3 separate regions of the Homo sapiens genome follow, and regions 1 and 2 are each linked to region 3. The links are contacts of gene promoters, found by promoter capture Hi-C in blood cells and fetal thymus (Javierre and others, 2016). All regions are on one chromosome and are shown on one strand. Each heading gives the region's core, a stretch centred on a gene start or on the middle of the fragment in contact. The rest is flanking DNA. Distances are from core to core; before and after follow the strand shown.

Region 1 (3,723 bases), core at 581-3,080, 180 kb before region 3:
GAAAATGAAACTGAGTAATGGAATATCTAGGAAGCAACTATATGCATGGGCCAACTCAGTTACTCAGCTTTGACACTGTTGGGTCTAGTTGGTACCTTTGTTTCCTTTTGTGTTATAGATGGAGGTGATCTTTCAAATCTCCTCTGCAGAGATCCAATGGGATAATGGTTGACTACCATTTATTGAGCACCTAGCCCATGTCAGGTACTCTACATGCATTTTCTCATTTAATTCCCTCACCTAGACTGTGTGCTAAATGGTCCATTAGCCCTACTTTCTTTTCCAGTAAAGAAACTAAGGTTTGGATAAGTGAAGTTGCATGCCAGGGTCCTGCAGCTTTACGTGGTGAATCCTGGATTTGGACCTAGATTGGGCTGGCTCTAAAGCCAGGCTTCTTTCCCCTGCTCCACTCTTGGAATAAATGAAGGATTGTTGGTTCAGGATATGCAGAAAGCTGCTTAGCAAAAGGAGAGTTGGAGAAGCATCTTGGTTTGAGGGTCTTGAAGGACACCTACTGTACTCCCAGCTGAGAGGACTCTTTCTCCTCATCTTCAGGAGGATGCCTCCAGAGCCTGGGGTTACTGTAGGCCTTTGCCAGAGGCATGTTCGGACTTAGCCAGCTGAGTATCCCCTGTTTCCTGCTTTTACCATCTCAGCTGCTGGTCAGGAGGTTTGGGAAGGTGACATCATCTAGCTGAATCAGCTGCTGCTTCTAGATACATTACTGGAACTGAAAGTCATTACCCCTTCCTTCCTGCTCTGCAAGTCTCTTCAGAATGAGGCTGGAGTATGGGTGTTCCACCTGTCTGCAGGGTCATGACTGGAATGGTACTTGCTGCTTTTAAAGAGCTAAAAGGTTTTTAAAAGCTTGTTCATGGAAAAAGCTTTCCTCAAGGCTTCTCAAGCTAAGGGAACAGAGCGTCCTTGAGAGGCAGGAGGATTCACAGGAAGGCCCTCCCCGACTCCCTCTTGTCCACCTACATTTAGCCATATGACCCTTCTGATCTCCTTTGCCTAAGTCCGAGGCTTAGGCCTAGCACTGTAGGATGGGTAAACAAAACGTTATTTGTGGACTTTTTGACCTTAAGACTTTTAGAGTCTGGTCAAGGGGACAAAAAAAAACTGCTTACATTTCAGAGCAGACCAGCCACCACACTATTGGAGATATATTGGAGATCTCCCCTTGACTCACTAATTGAAAAGCAAAAAAGGGCAGGTGTGGTGGCTCATGCCTGTAATCTGAGCACTTTAGGAGGCTGAGGCAGGCAGATTGCTTGAGCTTAGGAGTTTGAGACCAGCCTGGGCAACATGGCGAAACTCTGTCTCTACAAAAAAATACAAAAATTAGCCGGGTGTGGTGTTTCGCACCTGTATTCCCAGCTACTCGGGAGGCTGAGATGGGAGAAACACTTGAGTCCAGGAGGTCAAGGTTGCAGTGAGCCATGTTCACACCACTATACCCCAGCCTAGGTGACAAAGCGAGACCGTCTCCAAAAAAAAAAAGAAGGAAAATCGACTGGGTCCAGTAGCTCATGCCTGTAATCCCAAAACTTTGGGAGTCTGAGGTGGGAGGATCACTTGAGCCCAGGAATTCAACATCAGCCTGAGCAGTACAGTGAGACCTCCATCTCTACAAAAAATTTGTCAGGCATGGTGGCACATGCCAATAATCTTGGCTACTCAGGAGGCTAAGGTGGGAGGATCACTTGAGCCTGGGAGTTCATGGCTGCAGTGAGCTATGAACACATCTCACAGAACTCCAACCTGGGCGACAGAGCAAAATCCTGTCTCAGAAAAAAGAGTCATTGGAGGGTTTTGAACCAAGAAATGACAGTCCGACATACATTTTTAAAGGATCACCAGGCTGGGCACGATGGTTCACGCCTGTCATCCCAGCACTTTGGGAGGCCGAGGCAGGCAGATCACTTGAGGTCAGAAGTTTAAGACTAGCCTGGCCAACATGGTGAAACCCCATCTCTACTAAAAATACAAAAATTAGCCAGGCATGATGGCGTGTGCCTATCATCCCAGTTACTCAGGAGGCTGAGGCAGGAAAACTGCTTGAGCCCGGGAGGTGGAGATTGCAGTGAGCTGAGATTGTGCCACTGCACTCCAGCCTGGGCAACAAAGCGAGACTCCGTCTCAAAAAAAAAAAAACAGCAACAGCACATGCTGAGGATTCTGTTCAGTGGTTTCCACTTATCAGTATAGCACCTCATTAATCCTCCCAACAGTTTTATGAGGTATGCTCTAGTGGTATCCACATTCTACAGAGAAGAAAACTGAGACTTTGAGAGGTAAAGTCACCTGTTAGGCCGGGCACAGTGGCTCACGCCTGTAATCCCAGCACTTTGGGAGGATGAGGTGGGCAGATCATGAGGTCAGGAGTTTGAGACCATCCTGGCTAACACGGTGAAACCCCGTCTCTACTAAAAATACAAAAAATTAGCCGGGCGTGGTGGCGGGCACCTGCAGTCCCAGCTACTTGGGAGGCTAAGGCAGGAGAATGGCATGAACCCGGGAGGTGGAGGTTGCAGTGAGTCAAGATCGTGCCACTGCACTCCAGCCTGGGTGACAGAGCGAGACTCCGTCTAAAAAAAAAAAAAAGAAAGTCACCTGTTAAAGATTACACAGCAAACTGCCAGCATCCAAAGCCTGTCCTCTTCCCTCTTCCATTTGAATAGGCTCCTTCCAGCCAACATTCATGTATATTCTATCCAGGCTCCAAAGTCCAGTACCAAGCCAGTCTTTTCCAGGAAGCCTTCCCCAAGCTTATCTAATGGCCTGTCCCTCTATTGAGAGCTGATCTACAGAGCTACCATCCATTGAGCACTCCATGGGTGCTAAGTATACTGCTGAATGATTTAAATATGTTATCTCATGTAATATTCCAAGGAGCCATATGCCCTGTGACATCCATTTTACATGTGAAAATAGTGAAGCTAAAATATAGGCACATGCCATCATGCCTAGCTAATTTTTTTTTTTTTTTTTTTTTTGAGATAGAGTCTTGCTCTGTTGCCCAGGCTGGAGTGGCTTGATCTCGGCTCACTGCAGCCTCCGCCTCCTGGATTCAAGTGATTCTCCTGCCTCAGCCTCCCGAGTAGCTGGGATTACAGTCACCCACCACCATGCCCAGCTAATTTTTGTATTTTTGGTAGAGACAGAGTTTGACCACGTTGGCCAGGCTCGTCTCGAACTCCTGACCTCAGATGATCCACCCGCCTCGGCTTCCCAAAGTGCTAGGATTACAGGTGTGAGCCACCACACCCGGCCGACTAGCTTATTTTTAAATTTTTAGTAGAGACAAGGTCTCACTGTGTTGTCCAGACTGGTCTCTAACTCCTGGGCTCAAGCAGTCCTCCCACCTTGACGTCCCAAAGTGCTGCGATTACAGGCGTTAGCCAGCAGTGTCTGGCCTCTAATGACACTTTATTCATGAGAATAAATGCCAAAATGTATACAGTGCATGGGCATATGACTGGGAGACCTTGGTACGCCAGCAGTGGCAAGGACAGTCACCTAGAAGTAAGTGCCCTAGAGTACACCGAACCTGGGTTTCAACTGCCCAGGCTTACTCCTTCTCAAAACCAGCCCTTTTCCAGCTTTGTGTCCCTGTGTGTTTGCATGGGTGCAGGCACAAGTAGATGACACAGTGGTGATGCTATGCACCCAGGACATTTCATAATAGGGAAGGACGTTGACCGCTGCCATGGGGTACCA
Region 2 (3,568 bases), core at 902-3,401, 230 kb before region 3:
GGAATAGACACCGAAGGTGGTGTTCTTATCCACTGCCTATTTATTTAAAAATAGACATTTAAGCTGGGCGCGGTGGCTCACGCCTGTAATCCCAGCACTTTGGGAGGCCGAGGCGGGTGGATCATGAGGTCAAGAGATTGAGACCATCCTGGCTAACACAGTGAAACCCCGTCTCTACTAAAAATACAAAAAAATTAGCCAGGCGTGGTGGTGGATGCCTGTAGTCCCAGCTACTCGGGAGGCTGAGGCAGGAGAATGGCGTGAACCCAGGAGGCGGAGGTTGCAGTGAGCCGAGATCGCGCCACTGCACTCCAGCCTGGGCAACAAAGCAAGACTCTGTCTCAAAAAAAAAAAAAAAAATTCACATTTAAATAGATAAATAACAAATGTCATGGAGCAAGAGATAATAACTTCCAAATACTGTCTACTGTAGGCCAGGCACCTTACCAGACACTTCACATAAATCATCTCGTTTAAACTGCATTAACAATATAGACAATAGATAGATGTCTTTATAAATAAATGCTACCATCACCATTTTATAAACAAGGAAACAAGCTCAGAGAAGTTACACTATTCCAAGATCACCAAACTAATACATAGCAGTGTTGAGTTTTAAAAGAACAAGTCTGCAGGATTCCAAAATCTGGGGTCTCTCTAATGCACAAGTTTTCCTATAAACATTGCTTCAAAAAGGAGGTAGGTAATCAAATCATAAGATCCTGTTCAACAAAGACAAATCCTGCCCTTTATGAAAACTAAGCATCCCTGATATGCTCATAAAGAAAACTTTAGCAAATTACAAATCCTGTTATAAATATATTTGGAAAGCTCTGATCTGAATCTTCCCATAAATTTTTTAAAAAATCCATTGATTCCTCTTTTTTTAAGTATACTTTTCCATATGAAGTTTTTCCTCTATATAAGATGGTGGTTAGTGAAAACCTCAGTGATATTCTAGAGTAAAGAGACTATGAAGAGGGTTCAAGCAGCAGAAGAAAGGCTGTCCTCTGAGGTCTAAGACTACATTTGATTAGTGGGGAACAAACGGCGAGGGGTGCAAACCTAAGTACACTTAATCTTTAGGTGAAATTTTAAAAACAAAATATTATTTTCCTAACATGACCTGTTCTTTAAAAAAGCTTCTTTTAAGCTATATTTTGGTCTAGAATGGCCAACTCAGGAGACCATCCCCTCTCCCTGGAAAAAGAGAATAAATAAATACATATCCATTGAGAAGTCTGACTCTCTTCAATTAAGGCTGATAGGACAAGTACATCAAGAAAACGAAAAGCTAACTACTGGGTAATTTCGGTTTCACGACACTACCTCCCCCAGAAATAATAAATATGAGGATGTGAAATCTTCCAAAATTAAAGTCCACAGGGCCTAGTGGGAAATGGAACAGGCCAGAGCCAAAGGCAGCTGTTTAAATGAGAGAGCCCCAGGCATGGTGGGAACTGGATGCCTTCCTGCGTCCCTTAATCAAGATTGAATTTCTGTCAACAGGTCTCACCAAAAAAAAAAAAAAAAAAAAGGCACATGCGTCAACCACATTCCCCCAAACAAATCAAGTTGCCAAGCAAGAGAATCAGCTTCACATTTCAAAATTATCTGAATCTACCACAGCTTCAGATTCTTGCAAAACTAGAAATATTCTGCATGGAAAAATAGCTATTAATGACCAATATTCCTACAAAGACCCAAGGAAAAAGCCTATCCTGTATGCTATGAACCAATTAGGTTCCTCTAAAAACTGCCTATTCAATGCCATCCATCGTGTCTTATAGCCCATTTTTGTTTCCAAAAAGCGAAGACTAAAACGATAGATAGATAGATAGATAGACAGACAGACAGACAGACAGACAGAGATAGAGATATAAAATCTCGGCCGGGCACAGTGACTTATGCCTGTAATCCCAGTACTTTGGGAGGCCAAGGCAGGCGGATCACGAAGTCAGGAGTTCGAGATCAGCCAGGCCAACATGGTGAAACCCGTCTCTACTAAAAATACAAAAATTAGCGGGCGTGGTGGGTACGTGCCTTTAATCCCAGCTACTCGGGAGGCTGAGGCAGGAAAATAGCTTGAACCCAGGAGGTGGAGGCTGCAGTGAGCCGAGATTGCACCGCTGCACTCCAGCCTGGGACAGAGCGAGACTCCTTCTCAAACAACAACAACAAAAAAAAATCTCTTCCCTCCAAGAACGCACAATTGAATGGGGGAATGCAAACAATTACAATATAGGGCTATCCTTGCTGCAAGAGGGCATTAACAGAGAGCGCTCTGGAAGTGCAGAGAAGGAGAACAGCATAAAAGAGGATCAGAGATGGTTTCCTGATGTAAAAAATACTTAAAAGATACAGACAGACCTGCGGAGTTCTACAAGCTAAGAATGAACGTTGACTTTTTCTAGGGTAAGAGATAAATGGAAGGGGAAGACAAATACAAATTAGGAAGATTGCAGACAAAGCAATGTAACCTGTTCCCACATTCATCTGAAATTAACCTCCCATTGCCTCCCATCTTTCTTCACTCTCAAACCAAAAATAACTAGTCTTGACAAGCTCTATAAATCAAAAGGTGCAGGTTCAGACCGGGTTGGGGAAAGCTGCAAGAGGGTGCATTCTAAGCAGGGTGAAATAGGGGACTACCAGCTCCTGAGCAAAACAAAGACTTTGGTGTGACAGATGCTCTCAAACACCTTGCTATCCAGTCAGTGAGATATGACTTGCCTATTTCTATTAAAGAGAAAGTCATGAGTTAAACTGGTAATATAATAGAATAAACAGAGTAAGACAAGACTTCATTAGAAGTATAGTTAGTTAAGATGGTCCCATCCCAGGCAGTGCCATTTCTCCAGGGACATCCTCTCCTACTTTCACAAGGGATAAGAGATCCTGTTACATTACCACAAGTAAAATAGAGTGGAGTTACTTTCATCTTACCCAGAGAGAAAACACCTACATTTTTTTCTTGTATATAAGGGATTAGCAGCAGTCAGTAAATGGCAACATAATCCAGCATGCAATTTTAACTGTTAATCAAAGTCACAAACTAAGTCTGAAGGAAGTTTAATGGACTTTGTGTTTCCACATTTATGTTTGCTAACTTCTATGTTGAAATTGGATCTGTTTACAGAAACAGATCTATGAAGCTTCCAAAATTGGGTCAATTTAAAATCCAATGACAATCCCTCACTGTCCAACACTCAGAAGTCAGCACAGGACACATGGACACTTGTTCTAATTCATCACTGTCCAGAAACTTCAAGCAAATATATTTCCTATCATTTCTCTCCCAAACTTGTATGTTTCATATTGCCCTTTTTTAAGGATTACAAACTCAGTTTTGCTATAATTTATCCATAGAACTCAACAAACCATAATCCACCTATGACTAATAGGACCTAGATGGAAATCAATGATGCTGTTTACTACTAGGACAGATAATGACAGAGAGCTTTGTAAAATACTAAAAGGAAATCTTAGTAGAAACCCAAAGTAATCTGATATTCCAATAGTATGAAGCTGAAAAAGTTTGTAATGGTTGACAGTGTGGCTGCAGATT
Region 3 (3,436 bases), core at 598-3,097:
CAGGGAGAATTACTCAGTTTGGAGAGCAGCTCAGATCAAGCTGCCTAGCCTTATGCCAGCTGTCCTTCGCCTCCTCTGTCCTGGGTTATCTCAGAACTGCTCTCTACACTAAGTGTCTACCTGACAGGCATAGTAGAGAGGCTTAATATCACCTGAACTCAGCTTAGAAAAAGCCAAATAAAAAGGAAAATGGAGTCATGTTTGAGTCTCTCAGCCTAAGCCCCGCCTAACTACTTTCCTTTGCATCTGATCGCATACAGAGCCAGTAGTGAGTTCTCTGCTCCTGGGGAAGGAAGATGGCAGGCCTCAGCTACTGCTCAAGTTGGGTAGTGTTTTGAGAACCTCAGCTTCAGCAGTTTCAAAAGTGGCAGCTGCTTTGTGGGCCTGCCCTCTTTGGGCAAGACTTCCACTTAGGTCCATCCTCAGGTCTGGGTGGGGGAGGAGCATCGGGAAGGTGCAGATTAAGAGGTTGTGGAGGAAGGGAGAGGGTGCCAGGAAGTGAAAAGTCATTGGTACAACGGGCTAGAAAGGGCTTAATATAGGGAAGAAGTGGGGCAGGGAAGGGGGAGGGAGAAGCAGAAGGTGAAATGTGCTGGAGTCCTCCTAGTTATCCAATAGGACAGATGTTGAGGAAGGCCAGGGATGGAGTCTGGCCCAGTCTCACAAGAGGGGCCAACAGTGGCCCAGCAGACAGGCCCAGTTTGGTGGGGGGATTGTCTTGGGGGTATGGGGAGAAGGGCTACTTTGAGATAGGGTCAAAGGCTGGGTGGGAAAAGGGTTACAGGTTAGGAACAAGGTCTAGGTTTTGACTAGGCCATGTCCAAGGTTGGATGGTAGTTAAGAGAGGAAACCAGGAAAATAAGACGTCCATGCCTAGTTGGAAAGTAGAGGCACCAAGATGCCAGCTTCTGAGGAGCCAGCTGACTGGGATGGTTCCAGAAAGTGATGTGAAAAACTGGGCTCTAAGAGATCATTGTTTTTGAGGCAGGGGCAAGGGCCAGGTGTGGGGGATCTAGGTGAGCACATAAGGTGCCATAGATTCCAGTGAGACAGGAGTCAGAGTCTAGGGATGGGTCTGGATGGTAGAAAGGGCCCTGCGGTGGGCTGAGGCAGGGTTCCTAACAGGGAATGACACGAAATTGTACCATTCAGTAAGTTGTGAGGACCAGTATCCATCAGGTATACATGATGGGGCTGATCTGCCTGGGCCCAACAGGCTCAGAACAATCAGTGCCCGAGTCGCAGTGGGGGACGGGCTGACAGCGTTCCCAGCCGCGGCATGATGCACAGGGAGGGAAGTGTCAGGGTCCGGGTCGGGAGCAGAAGCAAGTTCCTATTGGGGAAGGTATCATACCCTGGTCGGGGGTCGGTGCCCAGATCCCGGGGTAGGAAATGCCAGCCCCGGAATGTGGGCCCGAGACAGAGGGAACGGTGGTGATCAGGGCTGGGAAGAGTCAGTGTCCGGGGAGAGGTGTCTGTCCCGCCTAGGAAGGGTCCATGTCGGCCGTGTTCGGTATGGGGGTGGAAAGTGCCCGGTTTTCCCGCTGACCCTACCTTGCCGCGGGCGCAGCGTACGGAGCGCAGGGCGCCGAAGAAGATGGGCAGCAGCGCCATGAGCAGGAGGCTGCCGTAGGCCAGCGCGATGCCCTCGGGCGTGGAAGGCGGCCGCGTAGTGCTGTTGGTGGGGCCGCCTGCCTCGGCACTGCCGTTATGCGGATCGCTGAGGGCCGAGTCCATGGCGAGGGTGCGTTCGGGATCCGACTCCAGCTCCGGTTGCTGCAGCAGGGACGCAGGCGGAGACACCGGCTCTGCAGGGAAAGCCACGTTCCCCTAAGGCAACAGGAAGTGACGTGCTCCCTCCCAAGCCCGCGCCGCGCACGCGCGCACACACGCTTGCACGCACGCGCGCGCGCGTGCACGTCTCCCCGCCCGCTCGCCCTCTAGCGGTGGCCGAGGGCCGGGCGGCGGGTTGCTAAGCAACTTGTTAGCGGTCCGGACAGGGGCTCTGGGCCACTGCGGTGGGCATGCGACCCGAATGCCCATTTCCCAGTCCCAGCCGGTCTCCTCAATCCCCTGCTGTCCACTCTCCGCAAATCCTCATATTCCGAATAACTAAGAATGTGTTTATTCATACATGCATTTATTGGGTATCCAATTGTTTATTCACTCCTTAAATATTTATTGAATGTCCCTCAATATGCCAACAACTGACCTAGGCTCTGGGGACACTGAGGTGAACAATACAGGCAAAAGTTCCTCCTTGCCTTCGTGAAGTTTGCATTTTAGTGCAGTGTGTGTGGGGGGACGTTGGGAAGACAATAAAGAAACTGAACAAAATAAAAGTCTGTAAAATGGGCTGGGCGCAGTGGCTCACGCCTGTAATCCCAGCACTCTAGGAGGCCGAGGCGGGTGGATCACCTGACGTCACGAGTTCGAGACCAGCCTGACCAATATGGTGAAACCCCGTCTGCACTAAAAATACAAACAATTAGCCGGGCGTGGTGGCACGCACCTGTAATCCCAGCTACTCGGGAGGCTGAGGCAGGAGAATCGCCTGAACCCGGGAGGCGGAGGTTGCAGTGAGCCAAGACTGAGCCATTGCACTCCAGCCTGGGCAACAAGAGCGAAACTCCGTCTGAAAAAAAAAAAAAAAAAAAAAAAAAAAAAGGCCAGGCGCGGTGGCTCACGCCTGTAATCCCAGCACTTTGGGAGGCCGAGGTGGGCAGATTGCGAGGTCAGGAGATCGAGACCATCCTGGCTAACACGGTGAAACCCCGTCTGTACTAAAAATATAAAAAATTAGCCGGGCGTGGTGGCGGGCGCCTACAATCCCAGCTACTTGGGAGGCTGAGGCAGGAGACTGGCTTGAACCTGGGAGGCGGAGGTTGCAGTGAGCCCACTGCACTCCAGCCTGGGCGACAGAGTGAGACTCTGTCTCAAAAAAAAAAAAAAAAAAAACAAGAAAAATTTGTAATTTGTAAAACGTTAATGTATAGTTATGTGTTACATAGCATGTTAATGCAGATAAATAGAGAAAAATAAAGCAAAAGAAAGTAAGGTGTGTGTGGAGTTTGCAAATGTATTGAGAGCCTACTATGTGCCAGGCAATTATAATACCTTACGAGTTCATGCCCCTGTACAATTTATAAAGCTTTGTGGCTCTTTTCAGAATTTGAAGAATCTGTTTATTTATGTGATTCTTATTTTTGATATTGTTAAAAAAGTTAAAAATATATATTTTCTTAGACATGGGGTTTTGCCATGTTGGCCAGGCTGGTCTCAAACTCCTAGGTTCAAGTGATCCTCCTGCCTCAGCCTCCTAAAGTGTTGGGATTACAGGTATGAGCCACTGCTTGCAGCCTACTGTGGCTATATTAGATACTGGAACATCTAAGCATCACTGTGTGACTGTGCAAACAAAAAACTTCAAGGAGGG

The links. Contacts are between HindIII fragments. The CHiCAGO score rates a contact against its expected background, and 5 or more counts as called.
Region 1: a contact is called between a fragment that was not itself captured here and the fragment with the promoter of HM13 in region 3, in 2 of 17 cell types (M2 macrophages and M0 macrophages). The highest score is 6.8, in M2 macrophages.
Region 2: a contact is called between a fragment that was not itself captured here and the fragment with the promoter of HM13 in region 3, in 1 of 17 cell types (non-activated CD4 T cells). The highest score is 5.0, in non-activated CD4 T cells.

The regions. Positions count from the first base shown.
Region 1 is chr20:31,696,327-31,700,049 of GRCh38, reverse strand. The region is part of intron 2 of BCL2L1 (BCL2 like 1); the gene reads left to right. The region is part of intron 3 of BCL2L1-AS1 (BCL2L1 antisense RNA 1); the gene reads right to left. Among named protein-coding and RNA genes, the nearest start is that of BCL2L1-AS1, 23 kb to the right of the region's middle. RefSeq lists enhancers at 616-665, 1,049-1,996. The HindIII fragment of the contact is 1,887 bases long and covers 887-2,773 here.
Region 2 is chr20:31,745,739-31,749,306 of GRCh38, reverse strand. The region is part of intron 2 of TPX2 (TPX2 microtubule nucleation factor); the gene reads right to left. Among named protein-coding and RNA genes, the nearest start is that of TPX2, 8.2 kb to the right of the region's middle. The HindIII fragment of the contact is 2,013 bases long and covers 1,145-3,157 here.
Region 3 is chr20:31,512,853-31,516,288 of GRCh38, reverse strand. HM13 (histocompatibility minor 13) reads right to left here and starts at 1,847. Exons shown (of 13, transcript NM_178581.3): 1 at 1,555-1,847. The coding sequence starts at 1,737. RefSeq lists a silencer at 1,181-1,250. The HindIII fragment of the contact is 3,704 bases long and covers 1-3,153 here.